Linked DNA regions of Homo sapiens: region 1 is linked to region 2. Evidence: promoter capture Hi-C in human tissues and cell types (Jung and others, 2019). All regions are on one chromosome and are shown on one strand. The core of a region is centred on a gene start or on the middle of the fragment in contact, and the rest is flanking DNA. Distances in the headings are between cores, read along the strand shown. Region 1 overlaps GALNT5 (polypeptide N-acetylgalactosaminyltransferase 5). Region 2 holds the start of ERMN (ermin).

Region 1 (7,118 bases), core at 745-3,244, 45 kb before region 2:
GGTTTCTCCCCATCTTTGTGGTTTTATCTACCTTTGGTCTTTGATGCTGGTGACCTACAGATGGGGTTTTGATGTAGATGTCCTTTTTGTTGATGTTGATGCTATTCCTTTCTGTTTGTTAGTTTTCCTTCTAACAGTCAGGACCCTCAGCTGCAGATCTGTTGGAGTTTGCTGGAGGTCCACTCCAGACCCTGTTTACCTGGGTATCACCAGTGGAGGCTGCAGAACAGCAAATATTGCTGCCTGATCCTTCCTCTGCCTGAAGCTTCGTCCCAGAGGGGCACCCGCCTATATGAGGTGTCTGTCAGCCCCTACTGGGAGGTGTCTCCCAGTTAGGCTACACAGGGGTCAGGGACCCACTTGAGGAGGCAGTCTGTCCATTCTCAGAGCTCAAACGCCGTGCTGGGAGAACCACTGCTCTTTTCAGAGCGGTCAGACAGGGACATTTAAATCTGCAGAAGTTGTCTGCTGCCTTTTGTTCAGCTATGCCCTACTCACAGAGGTGGAGTCTACAGAGGCAGTAGGCCTTGCTGAGCTGCGGTGGGCTCCACCCAGTTTGAGCTGCTTTGTTTACCTACTCAAGCCTCAGCAATGGTGGACGTCCCTCCCCGAGCCAGGCTGCCGCCTCCCAGTTTGATCTCAGACTGCTGTGCTAGCAGTGAGCAAGGTTCCATGGGTGTGGGACCTGCCAAGCCAGGCACAGGAAAGAATCTCTGGGTCTGCCAGTTGCTGAGACTGTGGGAAAAGCACAGTATTTGGGCAGAAGTGTCCCATTTTTTCAGGTGCAATCTGTCACAGCTTCCCTTGGCTAAGAAAGGGAAATCCCCAGACCTTTTGCGCTTCCTGGGTGAGGTGATGCCCCAACCTGCTTTGGCTCACCCTCTGTGGGCTGCACCCACTGTCCAACCACTCTCAATGAGATGAACCAGGTACCTCAGTTGGAAATGCAGAAATAACCCGTCTTCTGTGTCAATCACGCTGGGAGCTGCAGATCGGAGCTGTTCCTATTTGGCCATCTTGGAACAGACCTCAATTTTTTGTATTTTTTAGTAGAGATGGGGTTTCTCCATGTTCGTCAGGCTGGTCTCGAACTCCTGACCTCAGATGATCCACCCACCTTGGCCTCCCAAAGCACTGGCATTACAGGCATGAGCTACCTCACCCAGCCTATTTCTTGCCTTAACTCATTAAGCCCTTGTGTCAGGCTAAAAGACATGGTTCTCCAAAAATATATTTACTTCCTAATTCTCAGAACCTGTGATTATTACCTCACCTGGAAAAACAGTGAATATTACCTTCTGAAGCAAGAGATGTGATGAAGGATCTTGAGAGGAGACATTTACCCTGAATTACCCAGATAAGCCCCAAATGCCCTAAATCACATGTATCCTTATAAAAGAGAGCCAGGCAGAGGTTTCACCCAGAGAGACACAGAGGAGAAAGTGATGTGAAGACAGAGAGAGAGATTTGAGTGATTCAACAAGTCAAAGACTGCCAGCAGAAGCTGAAAGAGGCAAGGAACAGAATGTCCCCTACAACATATGGAGGGACTGAGGTCCTACTGACATCTTGGTTTTAGAATTCTGGACCCCAGAAATGTGACAGAATATGTTACCAAGTTTGTGGTAATTTGTCATGGCAGTCAGAAGAAACTAATATAAATTTTGGTATCAAGGAGTGAGGTGCTGCTATAACAAGTACCCAAAAATACAGAAGTATCATCCAAGGAATAGCCAAGTGATATGGTTTGGATGTTTGTCCCCTTCAAATCTCATGTTGAAATGTGACCTCCAATGTTGGAGGTGAGACTTGGTGGGAGGTACTGGATCACGGAGGCAGATCTATAATGGATGACTTAGTGCCATCCCCTTGGTGATATGTGTGTTCTCCCTCAGTTCATATAAGATTTGGTTGGTTAAAAGTGTCAGAGACCTCACCTTACTGTCTCTTGCTTGCTCTGTCATGTAACATGCCTGCTCCCACTTCGTCTTCTGCCATGGGTAAAAGCTCCCTGAGGCCTCACCAAGAGCTGAGCAGATGGCAGAGCCATGCTTCCTGTACAGCCTGCAGAACCGTGAGCCAATTAAACCTCTTTTCTTTACAAATTAGCTAGTCTCAGGTATTTCTTTCTTTCTTTCTTTCTTTTAGATGAAGTCTCACTCTGTCACCCAGGCTGGAGTACAGCAGTGCGATCTCAGCTCACTGCACACTACAACCTCCACCTCCAGGGTTCAAGCGATTCTCCCTGCCTCAGCCTCCCAAGTAGCTGGGATTACAGGCACCCGCAACGATGCCCAGCTAATTTTTGTATTTTCAGTACAGACTGGATTTCACCATGTTGGCCAGGCTGGTCTTGAACTCCTGACCTCAAGTGATCCACCCACCCCGGCCTCCCAGAGTGCTGGGATTACAGGTGCCCAGCCAGGTGGATTTCTTTGTAGCAACACAAAAATGGCCTAATACACCAAGGAATTCGCTAATAGGTAGAGGCCGGAAGAATTCTGTGAAGCATCATAGAAAAAGCCTAGAATGCCCTGAAGTCACTGTTGGTAGCAATATGAATATCAAGGATGCTGTTGGTGAGGGCTCAGAAGGAAGTGAGCGGCACAGTAGAGAAAGCTCCTATCAAATTGCGCCATGGCATTCCCGCCTGGGTGACAGAGCAAGACTCTATTTCAGAAAAAAAGAAAGAAAGAAAGAAAGCTTCTATCAATCATCTTTGAAAATATGTATGCTATCTTGAGCAGAATGTTGGCAAAAATATGAGCATTGTAAGTACTTCTGGTGCAGGCTTAGAAGGAAATATAGAGCACATGATTGAGAAATGGAAGAAAATGATCCGTGTTACATAGTGGCAGTGAGCTTGGCTTAACTGTGTCCTATAGTCATGTGAAAATTAGCAGAACTTGCCAATGATGAAATCGGATATTTAGCTGAGGAGAGTACCAAGCAAAATGTTGAAGGTGCATACTGATATCTTCTTTCTGTTCAGAGTACAAATGTGAGAGAAAATAGATACATTCAGGAAGGAACTGTTAAGCAGAATTTTCAGTAATTTGTTATGGTGGCCAAAGTAAACTGATAAAGCTCTTAAGTGAAGAGAGGAATATCTTCTCATATTATTCAGAAGTGCTAATGCATGGATCCTTAGTGTAGACTAATATTAGTTTAGACAGTCTGATATTTTAAGTTAGCATTAGATACCTGATCACTACATGAAGATAGTGAATCAAAATGTGTTATTTTAATTCTCTGTCACTTGAACATTTAGGACATGCTCCTATCAGCTGTCAATTTATTTTTTTTAATATTAGCCTCAAATAATAAGAATAAATTAACTTTATCTTGAGCTCAAGTTCTTAAACTCACCAATCAATGATTTGTGAGTCATTCTTTTGTTTGTTGGTGGGTTGGTTTCTTTGTGTTTTCTTTTATTTGTTTGTATTTTAAGACATGGATTCTTGGGCCCTCAGCAAACCTTGTAAATTGATTTTCTGGGGCTGAGGATTGGATATTTATGTTTTTCTAAGGCTTTGTCAATTATTATGATAAACAACCATCTAGGAAACCATTGAAATTATGAAGCACAGCTGGATTTGTCTACCATTTCTTAAGTACCCCCTATGTGTCAGATATATATTAGATGAGTTTTACATAATGTTTATATGTAATCTTATAGGTACATGTTTAATTTCAGCTTTGTAGTTGGCAAATTGAGGTTCAAAGAAGTAGTAAAGCTGTTCCAAATCAGTAATTAGAAAAACTGATATTTGAGCACATATCTATTTCCAAAGCCCATTCTACAAAAAAAACCAGCAGTAAAGTAAAAACATTATTTGTTCATATTTCCTTATATATCCTATCTAGGTGGATGATGTGGGTAAGTCATTTAACTTCCCAAGATTTGAAGAAGTGTATAATAATATGTATCTCAAGCAGTTGTTATGAAGACTGAATTCAATTATGTACAGAATAGCACTTTGGCAACACTAGAGTGTCATGCAAATGTGATTTGCTTTACTATCGTTTTTGCTCTTACCTATTTCTTATTTATGGAATAAGTAAAGTATAACCATGTTATTTGGCAGAAGTGCCAGCTCTCACAAAATGTCGCATCTACTGCCAGCTGCTTCTATTCTTGTGGATCTAAGGCTTCCTCAATGGTTACTTTTGGAGCCAGACTGGATCAGTGTTCGAGTCCCAGCTCTGCCATTTACTAACTGCAGAATCATGGACTAGTCTTTCCATGATTTTGATTATTCACCAATAAAAAGGGAAAGAGATGCTGGTAATTTGAGGTCGACATTGAAATAATATAGAATGCTTATAATATTTATGATCATCATTAATTATCACATTACTGACAGTAGCTGTGTTAGTAAGATGGCAAATACATTTTGTGAGGTTCCACTGGGCACTGCTTATGAAGAGTGGCACAGGCAGGGGGTGAAAGAATGCCAGCAGTGAGGCAGTGTATTCTGCAGGGCATGGGAAAAAACCCAGGCCAGTTGCAACCCACCTGAATACTAACTCCCACTGTAGCCTGGATTGCATTCCTATGCCAGCAAAATGGTTTTTCAACTGTGGCTATTCTGTAGCAGAGTATCAGCAAGGAAGCCCCGGATACGGAAGCTAAAAAGAGTTTAATTATTTGGCACATATATATTATGCCATAAGTACATACACAAGCAGAATGGGAGAAAAGAATAAATCCCATGGCAGTTGGCAGACAGCCAGTTGGAAAGGCAATCATAAACCACTTGGGAACATTAAATAAGTCAGAATGCTATCTTCTAGCATATAATCTAGTAATGATAGCAATAACTACCATTTCATAAATTCCTGTGCCAGGAACCCTGCTAGGCTTTGTATGTACATTATCACTAGGCTACAAAACTCTATTGAATAAGAACCATTTATTACCTCATTCTGCAGATGAGGAAACTGAGGCACAGAGAAGTTAAAGAAGGCATTAATGGTTAAAGACCTGAGAAATATTGGCCATGAGATTTGAAATAGAGTCTAACTACCTGTAAACCCTGTCCTTTCCACTGCAGTGTGATGTCTGCATGGGACATTCTCATGTCTTGCATTTCTAGTCCTTTTATAACAACCACGGTTACGGGTAATTCTTCTGCTTTTTTATTTTGCATGTACCCCTCCCCAAAAAAAGGCACATGATAAATAATAAAATCATCATTGGTATATATAAATAGATGATAGATAGACCAGACAGATCGATGACAGATTAAGTGTGTGTGTATATGCACACCATCGCACTCTGTGACTTTTAAAACTATCTTGTGGATCTCCTTAGCACATCTCTTGTGCTCTGCTTATATTCTGGCCCAGATGTGCAGAGCAGCTAGTTCACAATAACCTCCCAACCACCAGTGTCATCATGTGCTTTGTGGATGAAGTGTGGTCCACTCTCCTGAGATCTGTTCACAGTGTCATCAATCGCTCTCCTCCACACCTCATCAAGGAGATTCTGCTGGTAGATGACTTCAGCACCAAAGGTAAGAAAACCACTCAGGCTATCTCTTGAAATTTCAAAGTTTGGCAGAAGCAAAGTTTAGTAGCAGTTTGGATGGCAAAATTATAGGATAATTTGATGAAGCATAAACATCGTACAAATGCTTTGTTTTACGTGGAGCCTCAGAGACATAAGTCTAAGCATCTATGGACGTTAAAAGTCATCTGGAGCTCTGTTCAGTTAGTTGTCTCAGTTGTAACTCTGCTACCATGTTGGAATGATCTAACTATGGCTCCTTGGAGATGGGCACTTAGAAGTAGTGGAGTTTAGATGTCCTCTACAATTGCACAAATCCCTTTTAATGGAATCACAATTAACGGGAGGCCTTGCCTACTGGTAATAACTAGAGTTACAGTTAGACTCTATGGAAGGCAAAGAAATTAAGATCTTATGGCTTCTTCCTTGAGAGCAAGGCATATGATGTGTTCAGTTAAGTGTTAAGAAGACAAATTGCCAATAGGACAAGAGAGATGAGGTGATTCCAACAAAGTTCAAAACCAGAATCCACCATAGCCTTTATGTTCATTTTTGCTTATTACAGTGAAGAATCTCACTCTTTGGGTTGTCAAATAACCTGTGTATGTAGGTGGTCTGACAGCCACATTACAAATTCCCAAATGGAACCCATTTTTCAGAAAAGTTTAGAAAATAGCAAAGACTTGGCAATGCTAATGGAACAGCTTACCCTTGAGCTGTGACCACAGCAACATGGGAAGTTTCTTTAGCTTCAGAGTTTCTGCCATAATCACACTGAGCTCAAGAAGCTGTGGGATGATAGAGAAAAACTGGCTGAAAAACATAAAATGTGGCCTTGGAAGCATAAACAGGAATAGTACCCAATTAGTAAGTAGATAGGAGTCCCTTTATGAGGGGCAGGTCCAGATTCTGTGGGACCTGAAGCTTATTCAGTTTTCAGGGTCCTGTCTAAGAAAAACTTTCTTAGAAAGTTTTCTGGAAGCCATTCCAACCTAGGATAGCTGTCAATAGCTTGATTACACACAGAAATGACTGTAAGTCACATAAACATAGCTCATAAAGCCCCCGGAAAACTGTTCCTTTAGCTGGATCCCTCCATGGCCATCTAATAAGAGAGAAAAGGTGTAATGGAAGGGGATGTCAGAGTAGAGAATGAAAGGGTCTTATTTGCACACATTGTTTAGCCTCTTCCTTGGGTCATGGAAGGGGCTTTTGCAAGAGGTGGGGCTGAGAGTAGAGGCAGAATTGTGCAGAAGCCTGAGCTACATATATTTTAAGGCAAATCTGCCCCCACCTTGACAAATACTCAGAAAGGTGTGCCCTCCACTACATCACCTTACAACACTGAAAACAAACATTTGGGGTTTGAAAAATCAGACAGCTTTGAATACTGAAACCAGATAGAATCCTTCCAAGAAAATGACATCAGAAAATAAAATTATGACCCAAGGAATAAAATTCAGTGATGATGGTAATGTCATAGTTTTTGGCATTTGACTTTGGGGAGCACTTCTGATACTATCCGGACTTACTTAATTCAAGTATTTCCTGGTTTATCTTTACTCTGATGTAGACTATCTAAAAGATAATTTGGATAAATACATGT
Region 2 (7,021 bases), core at 2,969-5,468:
TAGAATGTAACATGTCAGCTTGGCTAGGTTTTCGAAATCCCAGCCATTCAATTTCAGCTGCCTGGTGACCTTTGTTCTTCCTGTCCTCATCTTCTTCCTCTTTGAGAGGCTGCTCAGTAATCCTCTCCTTCTGTCTTCTTATTTCCTGGTTACTGCCACTCAGAGGAATCTTCTCCCACTGATGCCCTGTAGCAAAATCAATTGGTAGATGAGATGTGTAGAGATTCCAAAATACCCAGCCATTAGTCTGTTATTCTCCAAATAATTTTTCTTGCTAATCACTTCCCAACACATGTTTTATGGGATATGATTCTGTGGGTTACCAATATGTTTTGCACAAACAGGCTACACAGCCAAATTAATTTCAAAAACACTGCATTAAATACAGTTAAATAAGCATCTTCAGAATTTTTACAAGCCTTTGAAATGCTAACGAGTATTGTAAATCTGTAAGAAAGTCAACAACCTAACTTCATTTGTCTATGGAACTCTGTTGTGGACTACTGTATTTAGTGAGACTGGTGTTCCCTGAGACACACTTAAAAAAAAAAATTCTTGTCTAGCCAGTCACAACTGGATACGTGCACATGTAAAAGGAAATGTTTGGACTTATCTTTTTCTCACACATACACACACACACGCACACACACACACACACACACACACACCTCAAGGAAAATTAGAAAAATACTTCAGAAAGAAAAAAATGCTCGTTTCCAATACTGAAAATGATGACTGTCCATGTCTGGTCACTTTTCAAACAGCTAGATCATACCAACATACCCTCAACAATATTTATTGAATATGGTAAGAATTAATTATAAGGAAGCTGAGGTTGTTCTCTGAGCCTTCAGCCCTGCAAGGCTTCTGTGGGAAGTTTCAGTCTGTGGTGTACACAACTCAGAAATCTGTCTGGGTTACACCCCTTGTCAGGCCTGAGTTCACCATTTTCTTTTGACACCGTGAGAGTCTATAAGTAAGGTGAGAGGCAATGTTCCTCTTTGTCTTTTTCCTCCACAATATTCTACTCTCTCCGAAAGATGTTCACAATTCCATTTTCATCCAAGGTGTTCAGTTCTCTTATTTTTTTGTTGTTTTCTCACTCTAGGGAATACATAGTAAACTTACAGAGATAGAAGTAAAGATGGGTGATCACCCTAATTTGTTACACACAGCTGCTATCAGGTCGCTAGTGTCCCGTCAATGTTCCTAACATTATCCATAAATACACATTAGAATGTTTGCCATAATCTTATGCTTTGTTTTATTTTGTTTTCCACAAGAACCAAAGTAAGTGATATTTTGTTTATATTCATGACTCAGCCATGAGATTGTCACATATAAAATTACTCCTTGAATTTAAATTATAGTTTTTCCTCAATATTTTTAGCATCTTTATATGTTTTAATCCAGTAACATTCTTTTTGAAGATTTTATAGCTGTTTGCCACTGTGAAGATAAAACACACCAAAATCTGTGCCTCTATTATGGAGGAAAAACATACTCCATCAAACAGGAAAGGATTCATTGAGGGAAAACTTAACCAGCGAGACCATCTAGCTGAAAACTACAGCCTGCTTTCATTCTCCATTTGATGAAAATGAAAGATCTAGACAACTGTTACCTGCAATGGACTCCTGATCAAACATTTGAAAGGGGCTCTAGATGATAGGAGGTTGAGATTCTGCCTCTGAGAACTTGTTACATTGGAAGCAGAATAATTAGGGCAAAGAGGTTATTAAGTTCATATTGTGAAGTCTTAAGTCTTAAAAATTATCTCTGGTAATGTGACAGCTTGACACTGTCTATTGCTTGCTACATATTTCCTTAAGTGTTGCTACACTGCTAAGCAGACATAGTATGAGAGGTGTTCAGGCAAAGGGAGCAGATGTAGGAAATAGCCAATCACATTCCTGTCCTCCTTGACATCTACTATTTTATGTGATGTTCTAATATTTCAACCAATAGTCTCTTCAATATTTTGCCTGTTAAAGTCCTAACAAAGCTAAATTGGTTAGGTTTAGCAAGCTGACTTCAATTTGACATAAGATGTGTATGGCTGCAAGAGAGGAAAGAAATGATTAATTAATAGATTTTATCCTACACTTTATTTGGGAACTGTTTAAATGTAGGTGTCTTAGAAAAATCTAAAGGATTTTGTGTCTCTTAGTCTATTAAGTTTATTTAAAATTTAACATAATCACTTCAATGTTCTTTTTATTCTTCCATTTTCTTAAAGAACACAATTAAAATTAACTTTATCACCCTGTCTTTCTTTGACATGAAATAGTTAACAATTTTGTATTTACATTAGAGGCCTATAAAGTAAATCATTTCGTGAGATTACTTTAAACTGTATGTTGGCCGGGCACAGTGGCTCACGCCTGTAACCCCAGCACTTTGGGAGGCCAAGGCAGGTGGATCAACTGAGGTCAGGAGTTCAAGACCAGCCTGGCCAACATGGTGAAACTCCGTCTCTACTAAAAATACACACACACACACACACACACACACAAAATAGCTGGGCGTGGTGTCAGGTGCCTGTAATCCCAGTTACTCAGGAAGCTGAGGCAGGAGAATCGCTTGAACCCTGGAGACAGAGGTTGCAGTCTGCCGAGATTGCACCATTGCACTCCAGCCTGGGCAACAAGAGTGACACTCCGTCTCAAAAAAAAAAAAAAAAGCTGTATGTTAATTGTAGACTTTTAGGAAAGACCCGTTTTTGAAACATTTACCTTTCACAAGGTGCACACACAGATTTGGACACACCAAATCAAAAAGTAGGGTTGACTCAGTGGACTAACTTAAGAGATAGACATCACGTTGGTATGCCAATCAGCTATGCCATTCCATGCAGCCTCAGCCTTGAACAGTCTGGAATGCTTTATAAGGTGGAACCCACAGATAAGTTAAGACTCTCTTATCTGCCTACAGCAGCTTTGAAAATTTGAAGTCATTGCCTGGATTGCTTTGTCAACCCCACGCTCATGCAACATTTCATGGAAAGACTGTCATCCATACTCAGTCAAACAATTTCTGTGTACAAAACTGTAGTTCTTGTTACCTTCTCTGAATGTCATTTCATCAGCACTAGTTTCTTGGAGAGAAAGATCTGTGATAGCCTTATGAACAATAAAGAGTTTCTCTTCTGGGTTTTCTAGGAAAAAAATATAAAATCAGTATTTTAACATTTAAAATATTTATTGTTCAACAGTTAATAAGTTATCAATTTAAACTCTAGGTAGAAGTCTTTAATTTTAAATCTGATCATTAAAATTTACTATTTCACTCTTTGGATTCATTCTTTATCAATTCAATTTATTTACTTAATGATCACTTTATTGATTGTAATCTCTCCTTTAATATTTATATAAGATATATATATAAGATATAGAACCATAAATTCAGAGAACTTCAGTTATATTTAGAAGGAAATTTTAACATTTTGAATTCTCTTTGTTCAAATAATATGGGGCTGTCCATAATCATAATAAATACAGTAGTTAACATTTAGCCAATACTTACCCTAGACTTGTAGTTATTATTATTATTCCGCCTTCTTCTAGTGAAAAAAACTCAGGCTTCGGGAGACAGAAAGTTGTCTGGGGTCACAGCTGTCAAATAGACCAGCCTGGATTTCACCAGAGGCAGAGGTTTAGTCCTTATACTATGCGTAGTAGAATAAAGGGCTACATTTTTGGGGTGTCCAGCTCATTTCGATAATAGTTTATCAAAAAAATCCAGGGTAAATTTATAAGTCAAAACAAGAAAATTAAGGAGAAGGGAAACACTTTACCTTTTAGCATTTTGTCCTCCATGGATGAGTTGAGCAGCATGTTCCCTTGTAATTTTCTTCTTTCCTCCTGACTTCCTTTGGTGAGTGCACCTTCCAGACTGGGTTCTACCCTGTAGTGTGGCAGGGGGCTGTCCACATCAGTCAATTCCTCACTGATTTTAGTGATTGTTTGTTGACCGTTTTCAGGTGGTTTATCCCCATTACACTCAGCCTGGGTAAATGTAGCCGGAACATCTGTCATGATGTGCGGTTGAATCCGATCTGGAGAGAGAGCTTTAGGGAAACTGAGTGAGTAGATCCTTGATAAGATACCTGCTCTTGCCTTCAAGTCCTATAGTTCCAACTCCTACTCTAAGAGCACAAATTATTCACTTTAGTACATAATAACAAGGTTCTTTTCCTAAAAGTATCCAGACAGAGATTAGAGCAAAAGCAAGAGGATTTGTCAGATCTGCCAGGAGCCATGAGCAAGAATCCAGCCAATCACCACCTTCTTTGTTGCTTGCCAGTTCCCTGGCAGAGTTAAAGGCATCCTTTTGATTTACATAAACAAACAATCTGAAGCAATCAGGCTTTTGTGTTGGCATGTAGAGAGGGACTTTCAGCTTGTCAGTCCCCCTCTGGGAACAGAGATTTTTGTCCCTTTTCATAATGGCCCATTGTAATTTTCCCTGTAACAGGAGCCACAATTGTCCCACAGCTTTAATCCAGAGAGAATGACCACCTTGAGGCATATTAGTTCTGTGTAACCAGCTTAACATTTCCAAACAGATTTTGTTCAAGTAAAACCTCAGCTATTTTGTAAAGGACAATGGCATTGTTTCTTATTTATTAAAAAATAAAACAGCTTATGGAAAAAACCTATAAACAGGACAACTTTACTGTAAATGGTTCTGGCTGCAGATTTGATGGTGTGCTTCCAGCAGGCTGGAGAAGGGACCTATGAAATAAACAAATTCTACCAACTTGCTAATACCAAAAGTTTTATAATTTCAGAGTAATTTACTTAGTCTATAGCTTCTTATCCTCTAGTTTATGTCTGCTGAAGCCCAGCCGATCCTTTAAAACCCTAATAAAATTATCGCCATGAAGGTTTCTCCTCCCCCAATCAGAATTACAATCCTTTCTATTCCATACTGATATTACACAATGCTGGTAAAATGTAGAGGACCAATGCAATCTGCCCTTGGGAGAAACAGGTGATTATGTTAAATGACTGCTACTGACCACCCCTTCCTTTTTAAATCTTTTTCTTTTTTGGATTTCTCATAGTACAAAATGGTTCCAGAGCCTTTGCCCACACAGCTCCTTCTATGTGAAATGCCCTTCTCTTCCTCAAGCCCAAGCCCTGGGCTGACCAGCTTCCCTAAGTTCTGTTTTTAAGCTTAAATATCATCTCCTTAACTACACTATCTCTAACCGCCAGGATTAGGACAGGACTCTGTTACACATTGTCTTTGCCCTTCAGAGTATTCTTCATGGTTGTAACTAAATAAGCAACTGCACAATTATCTCTGTAATGTCTGTTTCACCAACTGCAAACTAAGTTTCATCTGGCGAGGGGCCAGTTTAACTTGCTTACATGTGTCCCCAGCACTTAGCATCTGGCTTGGAATAGTAGCACGCAATAAAAATAATTATATATATACACATATATACACAAATAATTATATATATACACATACATAACAAGAATTATATTATATATATAATATATACAATAAATTTTATCCCCAAGAGAATAAATTTCAGATCATTTTTAAAGAGAAGAAGAATAGGTGTTGAAGAGTTGTAGTAAGCATATCACCTTTAAAAGTGTGTCTAGGGCTGAGCCCATTCAGGTCTATATCAGGGACAACACCTCACTCTTGTATAATCCCCTCTCCCTTGTCCTTGGAAGACATCTCTAATAGATCCTAGATCTCCCTCCCGCGTCATCACCAGCTGTTCTCTAGTCAGCACTCTAATTCTATGTTTGTTTGATTGTTTAACTGTTTTAACAAACGCTCATATCACACTTATTATGTGCAAGCTACTGTCCTAATTGACTCATAAATAGTAATACACTTACTCTTCATAACAGTCTTCTGAGGTAGGTGCTGTTGTTATCTCCATTTTATAGACTAGAAAAATGAAGTGCAGAGAGATTAAGGAGTTCAGCTAGTAAGGTCACAGAGCCAGCAAGCCTACTGATGAGAGTTTGCAGCACAGATGAAGCTAAGCGCCATCCCTGGCCTGTGTGCAGATGTTTCCTTGGACCAGAGATCCCACAGGGGTTCGGCATTAGCACCTTGGCAGTAGAGACAGTTGTGGCCAGGAGAGGGCAGCAGAGAGCCTAAGGCAGTCTCAAGACCTGCCCCAGAGACACCCTGCAGCTGCTGAGGATGATGTTCTGGGAGCGTCCTCCCAAGAAATTCAACTACAAGCTTACTGTTGAGAAGATATTGAGTGGAATCATATGGGAGAATGCAGAAACTAAGACCAAGCTTAGGAACAAATGGGGACATACTAGATTGTGAGATCCTTAGGGCAGGAAGTGGCACTAATTCAACCAAATGCCCTGCGATAAACACAGGAGTACAGAAATACATTAGCTCCAAAGGTCATGCCTCCAATCACTCCGTTCCCTCGGGGCTGCCAAGTACCTCAATCCAGGGACATAGCAAAGTTGAGACAGTTCAGATTCATTGTCTCTCCTACTCCTAGATTTCTATTACCCCATGGCAACGGGCACCTCATACCCATAGCCTAGCTTTTATGGGAATTCGTGTCTTTATTTTTGGATTGCCTTCTTTCTAAAACCATGCTGTGACATTTTTTATGGCCTTAAAATTATTTCAGTTTTGGAAAGATAGAGAAATGATCCAGAGTTCTGTCATCCTTGGCTAACCATGTGTTTACATTTATTTAAAAACATGCTTTTATGCTGCCCTAGGGAATAATGGAGGTCGGGTAAATGGTTTGTAACGTGTATTATTTTTTCCTACAAGTAGACGGCAACATGAGACACATTTAGCAACAAGATGAGTCTATCCAACTACTAGATAAAACATAGGCTATTTTGTTCATAAAGAGGTAAGTTGTCTCCCATTATTTGTAACAACCTATGACTTAGAAAGTATGTTAGAATTTGCACTATCATCCTTACTTCAAATACAATTGCAGAATGTTCACTGTATGAAACATGACTGTTTTATTTTATGTAGTTTACTGGATCTTGTGGCT

What was found. The method cuts DNA at HindIII sites, captures the fragments that hold promoters and counts their contacts. A contact is called where the count stands out against the background at its distance.
Region 1: a fragment that was not itself captured here is called in contact with the fragment with the promoter of ERMN in region 2 in 2 of the 25 tissues and cell types used here (adrenal gland and bladder).

Annotation. Positions count from the first base shown.
Region 1 is chr2:157,278,930-157,286,047 of GRCh38, forward strand. It overlaps GALNT5 (polypeptide N-acetylgalactosaminyltransferase 5), which reads left to right. Exons shown (of 10, transcript NM_014568.3): 2 at 5,353-5,519; 3 at 7,086-7,118. Among named protein-coding and RNA genes, the nearest start is that of GALNT5, 25 kb to the left of the region's middle. The HindIII fragment of the contact is 5,149 bases long and covers 1-4,569 here.
Region 2 is chr2:157,321,606-157,328,626 of GRCh38, forward strand. It overlaps ERMN (ermin), which reads right to left and starts at 4,219. Exons shown (of 3, transcript NM_020711.3): 1 at 3,797-4,219; 2 at 3,065-3,157; 3 at 1-186. The coding sequence starts at 4,037. RefSeq lists an enhancer at 4,103-4,652. The HindIII fragment of the contact is 5,881 bases long and covers 2,328-7,021 here.